2 separate regions of the Homo sapiens genome follow, and region 1 is linked to region 2. Evidence: promoter capture Hi-C in human tissues and cell types (Jung and others, 2019). All regions are on one chromosome and are shown on one strand. Each heading gives the region's core, a stretch centred on a gene start or on the middle of the fragment in contact. The rest is flanking DNA. Distances are from core to core; before and after follow the strand shown. Region 1 overlaps ING5 (inhibitor of growth family member 5). Region 2 holds the start of GAL3ST2 (galactose-3-O-sulfotransferase 2).

Evidence for each region. The method cuts DNA at HindIII sites, captures the fragments that hold promoters and counts their contacts. A contact is called where the count stands out against the background at its distance.
Region 1: a fragment that was not itself captured here is called in contact with the fragment with the promoter of GAL3ST2 in region 2 in 1 of the 25 tissues and cell types used here (mesendoderm cells).

Annotation. Positions count from the first base shown.
Region 1 is chr2:241,713,864-241,719,669 of GRCh38, reverse strand. The region is part of intron 5 of ING5 (inhibitor of growth family member 5); the gene reads right to left. Among named protein-coding and RNA genes, the nearest start is that of ING5, 15 kb to the right of the region's middle. The HindIII fragment of the contact is 9,714 bases long and covers 1-5,806 here.
Region 2 is chr2:241,775,163-241,780,527 of GRCh38, reverse strand. It overlaps GAL3ST2 (galactose-3-O-sulfotransferase 2), which reads right to left and starts at 3,706. Exons shown (of 4, transcript NM_022134.3): 1 at 3,544-3,706. The coding sequence starts at 3,572. RefSeq lists enhancers at 1,791-2,410, 2,411-3,031, 3,032-3,652, 4,894-5,365. The HindIII fragment of the contact is 16,655 bases long and covers 1-5,365 here.

The sequences.
Region 1 (5,806 bases), core at 1,130-3,629, 60 kb after region 2:
AGTCTCCTTCACCCCCACGAGGACCCCCAGTGCCTGCATTCCTTATGCCTAGCATACCCTTGAGAAACAGCACTGGGTGAGGAAGAGACCAGGAGGAGTCCCACTTTCACGCAGAAAAGGCACGGTCGGGACAGGGCCTTCAGGTTCCGAGCAGGAAGGAGCAGGAAGACTCAGAACGCTGTTGCCACTGAGTTAGAAAACACAAAACCCAGCAAGTCACAAAAACCACATTCTCAAAGATGTCGGGGAGCTGTGGAGCAACAAGAGCTAGATGACCTGCAGCCAGAGTGGGGGGTGTTGGGGGGTTGGGGGCGGCGTCCGCCTGCCTCATGCACTGAGTGAGGGCTGGGCTGGCCACTGGGCCACGCTGAGCCCACACAGCCACACATGGCGGCCGCGTCCCCACCGACATTTATAGTCCAGAGGCTGCACAGAGCAACTAAAAGCAGAGGGAAAATCCCTGCAACCTCGGAGTTCTCGAGCAAGGGGTCTGCTCGGGCACCGCTGGTCTCCTCCCCCGCACTTCTACCAACTGTGGAAGCCGCTGGGGCAGGAGGCGAGAGAGGAAACCTCAAGGTCCTCAAGGGGCCTCGGTGGAGCTGAAGCTGAGACCCTGCCCCGCCCCAGGCCCCCAGCCCTATTGGCCTGGACTAAAACAGAACGAACACCTCCTGGGGAGAACAGAAATTTCCCTCTCCACGCTTCCTTTATATCTAAAGTCAGACAGCTAATAAATCATGAGACATGTACCCTCAGCAGGGAAATAGGACTGATTATGTTTTTTTAAAAGCTGGTTACCAAGGAATGGTGGCACATGCCTGTGATCCCGGCTACTCAAGTGACCCTCCCACCTCAGCCTTCCAAAGTGCTGAGATTACAGGCATGAGCCAAAGCACCCAGCCCTACAATCTCTTAAATGAAAAATGTATTAAAGGAGATTAAAACTAACTTAGGGCCGGGCACAGCAGCTCACGCCTGTAATCCCAGCACATCGGGAGGCCAAAAACAGGCAGATCCACCTGAGGCCAGGAGTTCGAGACCAGCCTGCATAACACGGTGAAACCCTGTCTATACTAAAAATACAAAATTAGCCAGTCATGGTGGCACGTGCCTGTAATTCCAGCTACTTGGGAGGCTGAGGCAGAGAATCGCTTGAACTTGGGAGGCGGAGCTTGCAGTGAGCCAAGATTGTACCAGTGCACTCCAGCCTGGGTGACCAAGCAAGACCGTCTCAAAAAAAAAAAAAAAAAGACAGAAAGAGAAAAGAAGGAAGGAAGGAAGGAAGGGAGGGAGGGAGGAAGGGAGGGAGGGAGGGAAGGAGGAAGGAAGTGAGGGAGGGAGGGAGGAAGGGAGGAAAGAAGAAAGGAAGGAAGGAAAGAAAGAAGGAAAGGGAAGGTGAGAGGCTGAGCTGGGCGGATCACTTGAGGCCAGGAGTTTGAAACCAGCCTGGCCAACAGGCTGAAACCCCGACTCTACTAAAAATACAAAACTTAGCCGGGTGTGGTGACGCTCACCTGTAATCCCAGCTACTTGGAAGGCTGAGGCGGGAGAATGGCTTGAACCCGGGAGGCAGAGGCTGCGGTGAGCGGAGATTGCGCCACCGCACTCCAGCCTGGGCCACAGAGCCTGAACCTGTCTCATAAATAAATAAAGTAATAGAAACAAATCAAACTGAAGTACAGAAAGAAAAAAGCTTGCAGAAAGTAAGCAGAGCCTCGGTGAGCTGTGAGAAAATCTAAGCTAAGGAACGCACAGGGAGCTGGACAGCAGGAAGAGGAGAAAGGAGAGCACAAAAATACTGGAAGAACTGTCTGAAAATTTTCCAAATTCGATGCAAAGTATAAACCAACAGTTCAAAGATGCTCAACAAGTTCCACGCAAAATATACACAAAAAAATCACACCAATACACATCATAACCAAACTGTTAAGAGCCAGTGACAATGAGAAATCTTAAAAGCAAAAAAAAAAAAAGAAACCACCAAAAATAATTATTATCAGTAATTTATCATCAGAATCAATGAAAGACAGAAGAAAATGAGAGAACATCTTTAGCGATAAAAGAAAAAAGGTCAACCTAAAATTCTATACGCAGTGAAATAAAAGCATTTTCAGAGAAACAAAAACAGAGAATTCATCACCATCAGCATACATGTACTGCAAAAAATGTTAAAGTTCTTCAGTAGAGGAGAAATGACAAGACAGAAATTTGCATCCACATAAAGAAATATACGTAAGCAGAATATGTATGGAAAAAAAATTTTTAAAGAAAGAAAATAAATATTAAGAAATAATAGTTGGGCCAGGCGCGGTGGCTCATGCCTGTCATCCTGCCACTTTGGGAGGCTGAGGCGAGAGGGTCACTGGAGGCCAGGAGTTCGAGACCAGCCTGGCCAACATGGCAAAACCCCATCTCTACTAAAAATACAAAAATTAACCAGGTGAGTAGGTGGGTGTAATCTCAGCTACTCAGGAGGCTGAGGCACAAGAATCACTTGAACCTGGGAGGCAGAGGTTGCCGTGAGCTGAGATCGCACCACTGCACTCCAGCCTGGGACACAGAGCAAGACTCTGTCTCAAAAAAAAAAAAAAATGAAGGTTACCAGAAATGGCAACTATATGAGGTAACTATATATGGGGTGACTTTTGTGGTGAGAACACTTAAAATCTACACATTTTTTTGAGACTATATTGTTATTAACTGTAGTCACCATGTTGTAAAACGGATCTTTTGAACTTATTCCTCCTATCTAAATGAAATTCTGTATCCAACGTCTCCCCTGACCACCCCAGCGCCTGACCACCATTCTACTCTCTACTTCTGTGAGTTCAACATCTTTACATTCCACATATATTTTAAGGCGTGTTTCACGTCATCAGTGGTTTGCATCTAAGGTAATAACGTGCTGGGAAGCTCAGATCACAGGCAAAGTGAAGGACAACAGCACAAAGGCAGGAAATGGAAGAACACTTGTGTGGAGCCACACGTTAAACATCAAATAGTGTAATATCTGAAGCTCACTGTGATAACTTAAGGAAACTGAGTGCACACACTAGAACAATCCTTAAAATACAGGGGCCGGGGCAGTGGCTCACGCCTGTAATCCTAGCACTTTGGGAGGCCGAGGTGGGTGGATCACTTGGGGTCAGGGGTTCGAGACCAGCCTGGCCAAAATGGTGAAAACCTGTCTCTACTAAAAATACAAAAACATTAGCCGGGTGTGGTGGCGCACACCTATAATCCCAGCTACTGCGGAGGCTGAGGCATGAGAATCGCTTGAACCTGGGAAGCAGAGGTTGTAGTGAGCCAAGATCATGCCATTGCAAATTGTACTCCAGCCTGGGCAACAGTGCAAGACTCCGTCTCAAAAAAAAAAAAAAAAAAAAAAGCATGGCTAATAAGACAAGAGTGGGGAAAAAAACGGAATACTAAAAAATACCTGATTAGTCCAAAAGAAGACAGCAAAGGAGCAGAAGGAACAAACAGAAAACTAATAGCAAGATGGTGAACCTAAATCCCACCATATCATTAATTATGTTAAATATGAACAGACCAAATATTGCAATGAAGGCCGGGTGCGGTGGCTCATGCCTGTAATCCCAGCACTTTACAGGGAGGGGAGGCCAAGGTGGGCAGATCATTTGAGGTCAGGAGTTCGAGACCAGCCTGCCCAGCATGGTGAAATCCTGTCTCTGTTAAAAATACAAAAATTAGCTGGCTTTCAAAGGATTTCAATTATGTAATGTTCTTTGACCACAACAGAAGTCAACTAAAAAATTAAAATTAGAAAGGTATCTGAAAAATCCCAAATTATTTGGAAATTGAGACACATACTTCTACATAAGTTATAGGGCAAAGAAGTAGCATGAAAAAAAAAATTCTAGGTCAGGTGCGGTGGCTCACGCCTGTAATCCCAGTATGTTGGGAGGCCAAGGCAGGCAGATCACCTGAGGTCAGGAGTTCAAGACCAGCCTGGCCAACATGGTGAAACCCTGTCTCTACTAAAAATACAAAAAAAAATTAGCCAGGCATGGTGATACGTGCCTGTAATCCCAGCTACCCAGGAGGCTGAGGCAAGAGAATTGCTTGAACCTGGGAGGTGGAGGTTGCAGTGAGCCAAGATCACACCACTGCACTCAAGCCTGGGCAACAGAGTGAGGCTCCGTCTCACCAAAAAAAAAAAAAAAAAAAAAAAAATTCTATTCCAGCACTTTGGGAGGCCAACGTGGGTGGATCACTTGAGCTCAGGAGTTTAAGACCACCCTGGGCAACATGGTGAAACTCCATCTCTACCAAAAATATAAAAAATTAGCCAGGCATGGTGGCATGCACTTGTGGTCCCAGCTACTTGGGAGGCCGAAGTGGGAGGATCTCTTGAGCCCAGGAGGTGGAGGCTGCAGTGAGCCAGGATCATGCCACTACACTCCAGCCTGGGTGACAGAGTGAGACCTCATCTCAAAAAACAAGAAAAACATTCTAAAATATTTTAAATAGGTAAACGAAATAAAAATTTAAAACAATATCAAAATTATATCAAAATCATAATATATCAAAATTTGTGGAGTGCAACAAAGATAATAATTAGAACAAGGAAGATATAAAAATCAATTATGCAAGCTACTTCCACCTTAAAAAGCTAGAATAGTATAGGCAAAGTAAACCTGAGTAGAAAACAGGAAATAGAGAGTAGAAACAAATGCAATAGCAAACAAAAAAATAGAGAAAACAATAAAAATAATGAAACTAAAAGCTAGTTCTCTAAAAAGATCAAGACGGCCAGACGCAGTGGCTCACGCCTGTAATCTCAACACACGGAGAGGTTGAGGCAGGCGGACTGCTTGAGCCCAGATGTTTGAGACCAGCCTGGGCAACATGATGAAACCCTGTCTCTACAAAAAATTAGCCAGGCATAGTGGCGCATGTCTGTGGTCCCAGCTACTCGGGAGCTGAGGTGGGAGAATCACTTGAGCCTGGGGACAGGGAGGTGGAGGCTGCAGTGAGCCATGTGCATGCCACTGCACTCCAGCCTAGGTGACACAGCTAGACCCTGCCCTCAGGGAAAAAAAAAAAAGGATCAAGACAAAATGAGAGAAACATAAATTACCAGTATCAGGACTGAAAGAGGGGTCATCATAACAGACACATCAGAACCATAATAATGCAAAATTATTAACAACCTGATGTCAAAAAAATCTGACAACTTACATGAAACAAATTTCTTGAAAGACACAGATTTTTTCCAAAACTGACTCGAGAAGAAATAGAAAGCCTGAATACTTCCATAACTTTAAAGGAACTGAATGCAACATCAAACTGTACACTTAGAATAACATTTTATTGTATGTAAATTATTCCTTAATAAAGTTAATTTAAAAGGTTAGAAAAACAACAGGACTAAACTATAATGTATAGTGTCTAGGAATGCACTATAAAACTATTAAAGAAACAAGGAAATAAACACTATAGAAATCTGGATCATGTTTATTTGGGGGCAGGAGGAGTTTATGATTTTAACAGGGCATATGGAAGGCCTTCCAGCAGCAGTTAATCACTGACTAGGTGCTACTTACAAAGATCTTCACTTTACGGAAATTAATTAAACCATGTTTGTTCTGTGCGGTTTTCTGTATCTGTGCACTACTTTACAATACGAGAATGTTGGGATTTTTTTTTTTTTTTTGAGACGGAGTTTTGCTCTGTCACCCAGGCTGGGGTGCAGTGGTGTGATCTTGACTCACTGCAACCTCCACTTCCCGGGTTCAAACAATCTCCCTGCGTCAGCCTCCCGAGTAGCTGGGATTACAGG
Region 2 (5,365 bases), core at 2,457-4,956:
TTTGTTTTTTTGAGACAGTCTCGCTCTGTCACCCAGGCTGGAGTCCAGTGGTGCAATCTCAGCTCACTGCATCCTCCACCTCCCAGGTTCAAGCAGTTCTCCTGCCTCAGCCTTCTGAGTAGCTGGAATTACAAGCGTCCACCATCATGCCCAGCTAATTTTTGTATTTTTAGTAGAGATGGGGTTTCACCATGTTGGCCAGGCTGGTCTCAAACTCCTGACCTCATGATCCATCCACCTCGGCCTCCCAAAGTGCTGGGATTACAGATGTGAGCCACCACACCCAACCAAAAAATTATCTTTCAAAAACTATAGTACACCTGTTGTTAGATTCTAGTCTTGCCTAATGTTTTTCAATTTTTACTATTTTCTGCAGTTTGGACTGAATTCTAATTTTTCTTGGCTACAAGTCTTCAAAATAATGTTTGCATTTTTTTCTTTTTTTCCCATTTTTCCTAATTTGGAATAAGCTAGACAACTTAAACTTCAGAAGAAAATAACAGCAATCTATTTACATACATAAGCCACTTTTTTTTTTTTTGAGACGGGATTGTGCTCTTGTTGCCCAGGCTGGAGTGCAATGGCACGATCTCGGCTCACCGCAACCTCCGCTTCCCAGGTTCAAGCAATTCTCCTGCCTCAGCCTCCTGAGTAACTGGGATTACAGGCATGCACCACCATGCCCGGCTAATTTTGTATTTTTTAGTAGAGACGGGGTTTCTCCATGTTGGTCAGGCTGTTCTCAAACTCCTGATCTCAGGTGATCCGCCCGCCTCGGCCTCCCAAAGTGCTGGGATTACAGGTGTGAGCCACCGCGCCCGGCCACATAAGCCACTTTCATGTTTGCCTACTGATGTTTGGACTTCAGAGTAGTGTGGCCTGTATCGATTTTCCAGGATTGCTCTTTTCTTTGTTGTTGTTTTTCTCCTTCCTTCTCCTATTTTGTCTTCCTAGGACTTGACACTTCACAACCTGCTAAAAAATGAACTTCCCAGGGCCGGGCACGGTGGCTCACGCCTGTAATCCCAGCACTTTGGGAGGCCAAGGCCGGCGGATCACGAGGTCAGGAGATGGAGACCATCCTGGCTAACACGGTGAAACCCCATCTCTACTAAAAATACAAAAAATTAGCTGGGCGAGGTGGCGGGCGCCTGTAGTCCCAGCTACTCGGGAGGCTGAGGCGGGAGAATGGCGTGAACCCGGGAGGCGGAGCTTGCAGTGAGCCGAGATCGCTCCACTGCACTCCAGACTGGGAGAGAGAGCGAGACTCCGTCTCAAAAAAAAAAAAAAAAAAAAAAAAAAAAAAAAAAAAATGAGCTTTCCTAGTAACTCAGGACCTGCCCGTCTAGAAATAAACTATCCTAGCCATGAGAGATAAGACAAAACCTGGGACCAGAGACTCATTTTCTTCTAAAATCTTGGAGAGCTTTCTCCAAGATTTTAAAGAGAAAATGGGGGGAAATGTGAAAGGAAAAGATCTTGAGCCCCCAGATCACTACAAGCTAAAGGGAGGAGTCTAGCTGGGAACTGCTCAGGGCAAACCTGCCCCCCATTGTATTCAAAGTCTCCCCTCTGCTCACTGAGATAAATGCGTATCTGACTGCCTCCTTTGGAGAGGCTCATCAGAAACTCAAAAGAATGCAACCATTTGTCTCTTACCTGCCTGTGACCTGGAAGTCCCCTCCCCACTTGGAGTCTTCCTGCCTTTGCTTCGAGCCGTCCTGCCTCTCCAGACCGAACCAATGTTCGTCCTGCATATGCGGACTGATGTCTCATGTCTCCCTACAATGTATAAAGCCAGACTGTGCCCTGACCACCTTGGGCACACGTCATCAGGACCTCCTGAGGCTGGGTCATGGGTGCACGTCCTCACCCTTGGCAAAGTAAGCTTTCTAAATTAACCGAGACCTGTCTCAGATTTTGGGGGTTCACACCGGCATGGTGACCCCCATGGGCTCTGTACCACATCTTCTCTGATCATGAGTCCCCTCCTCCCCAAAGATACCTGGCCACACCCCAGGGAGGCAACACCCCCAAGTGCCATAGCTCAGAGTTTTGTGCCTGAATCATCACCAGCAAAACAAAAGATCAGCAAGCATCCAAGTGAGCACTTTGCCCGGCGGCCTGGATTTCCCGTGGCCGGTGGTCAAGACTAGGCCTCACTAGCGCAGGCAAAGTCTCTCCTCTGTTCTGGGCAGCTCCTTGAATCACCCAGGTGGGTGCCAGTGGCACCACACACTACCGTCCCCTTTGTCCCCAGGGCTGTTGATTTGTTCCACCCACAGGCCAAGCAAGCTGACACAAGCGAGGTGAGCCTCCCACACTTGCCCAACCCCAGGAAAATAAATGCGAGGCTCAGGAAGGCTGCTGTCCAGGGCTGTGGGGAAGTGACTCGGGGCTTCCCTCCTGCAGGCCGTGCTCAATGAAGCCTGGGACACCCGGAGCCAAAGCTCCCTGGCCTTAGTGTGGGACGTGCAGCCTGCATGGGCTGCTGCAGTGAGCCCATCCTGCCAGGCAGTGAGACCAGCAGCTGAGGAGCCTGTGCCCTGGGCTCCCCGAGGGCCTTCGGCTGCAATGCCTCCCATGTCTCACCCACAGAGTCTCAGCTGGGGTCAGGCACACCCGCCCTGGCCGACCTCGGGGGGCCCCAGGGCAGCCAGGGGGGCCCTAGCTTGGCCACCAGCTAATCAAGTGAGCCTGATTCCCCAGCCCCTGGGCCTCTTCTTCACAATATGGTCACAATGTCCACAGGAGGGGGCATCTAGGATGGTCCAGGCCAGGCAGCCGGCCCCACACCTCTCAGCCCTGTGACGGGGTGTCCTCAGCCAGTGTCCTGGCAGCTGGTCTTAAGTCACCCCTTAAAGGAAGGTAACTGAATTCATGGCGGCACACGCCCCGGGGAGGCAGGGACCTGCCAGCGCAGGGACGGCTTCAAACTGCCCTGGAATCACCCCAAACAGGATGGCGAGCAGGAGAAGGAAAACGCAAGGCATCCTTAGCCACACCCACCACCCCTCCAAACCTAACTGGGAAGAAATCCACCTCCCCTCTGTTTACAGAAGGGAGACAGCACAGCAGAGCCCAGCCTCCCCGTCACCACCCAGAGCCCCGGGAGCATCCTGAAGCGCACGCATGACCAACGCTCCAGCAAGCGCCTGGCACTCCCACCAACACGGCCCAGCCATGGGCCTGAGCCGCAGACCGAGGCTGGGAGGTCCCAAGCCCAGCAGGTCTCACCCTCCCCAGCCGTCACGCGGACACTCGAGCGTCTCCACGCCACAGTGTTGGGGGGCAGCTTTCTCACTGGGCCCCACATCCCAGAACCCCCAAACACCCAGAAGCAGCACCAGGCCTGGGCAGGAGGGGCCCCCTACTTCCGAAACGAAGCCAAGACAGGTGAATTCAGGGAAGCCTGAGTAGGAACAGCCTCCAAATCCAAGTCACTTCCTTCGAAAGACAAACAAAACCCACTCCTGTCCGTCTCTCAGAATAGCCACAGATGAAGCGCTTTGTCCACCTGGGGGGTCCAACTGCCCCCCTTACCTCTGCAAGCCGCCCAGCATGGACATCATCTTGGCCTCTGGCCTCCAGCGAGGGGACAGTCGAGGCTTGAGCTCCCCCGAGGTCCCACCGCCTCGGCCCCTGCCGGCTCTGGGCTCCCCAGGGTGCAGGCACAGGCAGGGTGCGGCTGTGGGGCAGGTGAACTGGAATCCCCAGAAGCTCACCTGCCTCCTGGGACGGGAGCCACGCCCTCTCCCCGCACCTCCATCGGAGGGCTTGGTTTTAACTGTTCTGTTCTCGGGAAGAACTGGCTGAGGGAGTCTGGGGAGCCCTCGATGGGCCCCTGTGTTCCCCAGGCCCTGGGAGGACCTGCCTGGGGCCTACCCCTGCTCCCCTGCCCCACCCTCAGTGTCCATCCCCCCGGGGGGCTTGGAGGGAGCTGTCCCCACAAGGGACGGGCTTGGTGGGCTCCAACAGCACAGCGACGGCTTCTGGACTCAGAACTCAGGACCTGACGCAGACGAGAGGGCAGAGGGCCCTGTGGCCACTGCAAGGATGAGCGAGGAAAGCTCAGCCCAATTCCCAGCTTCCTCCCCCTCCTCGTCCTCCTCTTCTTCCTCCCCCTCCTCCTCCTCCTGAGCCTGCTTCACACCAAAAGAAAATCTGACTTTTTAAAATCTTGGGCTGGACAATAAGTTTGAAACAGGACATGGAGGTGGAAAATAAATATAAATATTTGTTTAGATTTTACTGCAAGAAAGTTCATTTCTCTTTTCAGGAAATAGATATTAATTCCGAGACAAGCAGCCAGGGAAATGCTGCAACATTGTGACCAGGCGCTACAGTGAATCCACAGGAAAACGCAAATGCTCCTCAGAGCTACGGGCCACGCGCCATGAGTCACCACCACCCTCGCCACATCCCACCAGCGCTGGTGCCCACCATGCCCTCCGACGCCAAGCTCTCCACACGGCTGGTCACCTTCCCACAACCCCTCCCTGTCGGTGCCAGCTGAGCCTGGATTCCGGGACTGGCCCCAGCCCAAGGCAGCCTCCCTGCCCTAGCCAGTGCCTGGCTCGGATGGGTGCAGGCCCCATAGCCATGGAGGCAGAAACAAGGCTGGGCTGAGGGGCTCAGAGGAGGGGCCGAGCACACATGGACCTCCCTGGCATCAGAGACCCTGGGCTGGGCGGCTGCTGGCGAAAGGCCCAGAGACCCCCAGCCTCCCTTCCCCATTTACCTCCACCTGCAGCCCAGGGGCCTGGCATCTCCGCCCCCGCCTAGGCATCACCCTCCCAGCTGCTCTGTAGACCTCCAGAGCCCGAGTCTGTGGGAGGGGCCAGCAGAGCAGCTCCCGGTGCTAACGGCAGGTGGGAGGGATGCCGGGGCCTTGCTGGCACGGCTGGGCAGCTCTCCACCGGCGTGCCCTGCATCCTCCGCATTCCACTATCCAGAGACATCCGTGTGGGTGTTCACTCCACCATTAAGGAGCCTCCCTGCTGCTTCCTCCACCCACCCTGCCCAGGGCACCACAGGCTCAGCCTAGGAACAAAGAAGATGGCGCCTCATGGGTCCTTACCCCAGAATCACCTTGGCCGAGCCATGTGTTACAAACGGTGGGGCCGGTGGAGAGCAACCTGCCAGGGACACACGCCTGAGGGTCACGGCCAGGCACCTCCCTACACACGCCTGAGGGTCACGACCAGATGCCTCCCTCCCAGGTCAAAGTCCCCAGCTCTCCAGATCCCAAGTGACTTATGGGGCCTGAGCAAGAAGTGTGGGCCTGGGCAGGGGGTCCTCAGCCACCAGCCACCTTCACCCCCTGCTGGGGCAGACAAGGGCAGTGCAGTGTGGTGTGGAGCGG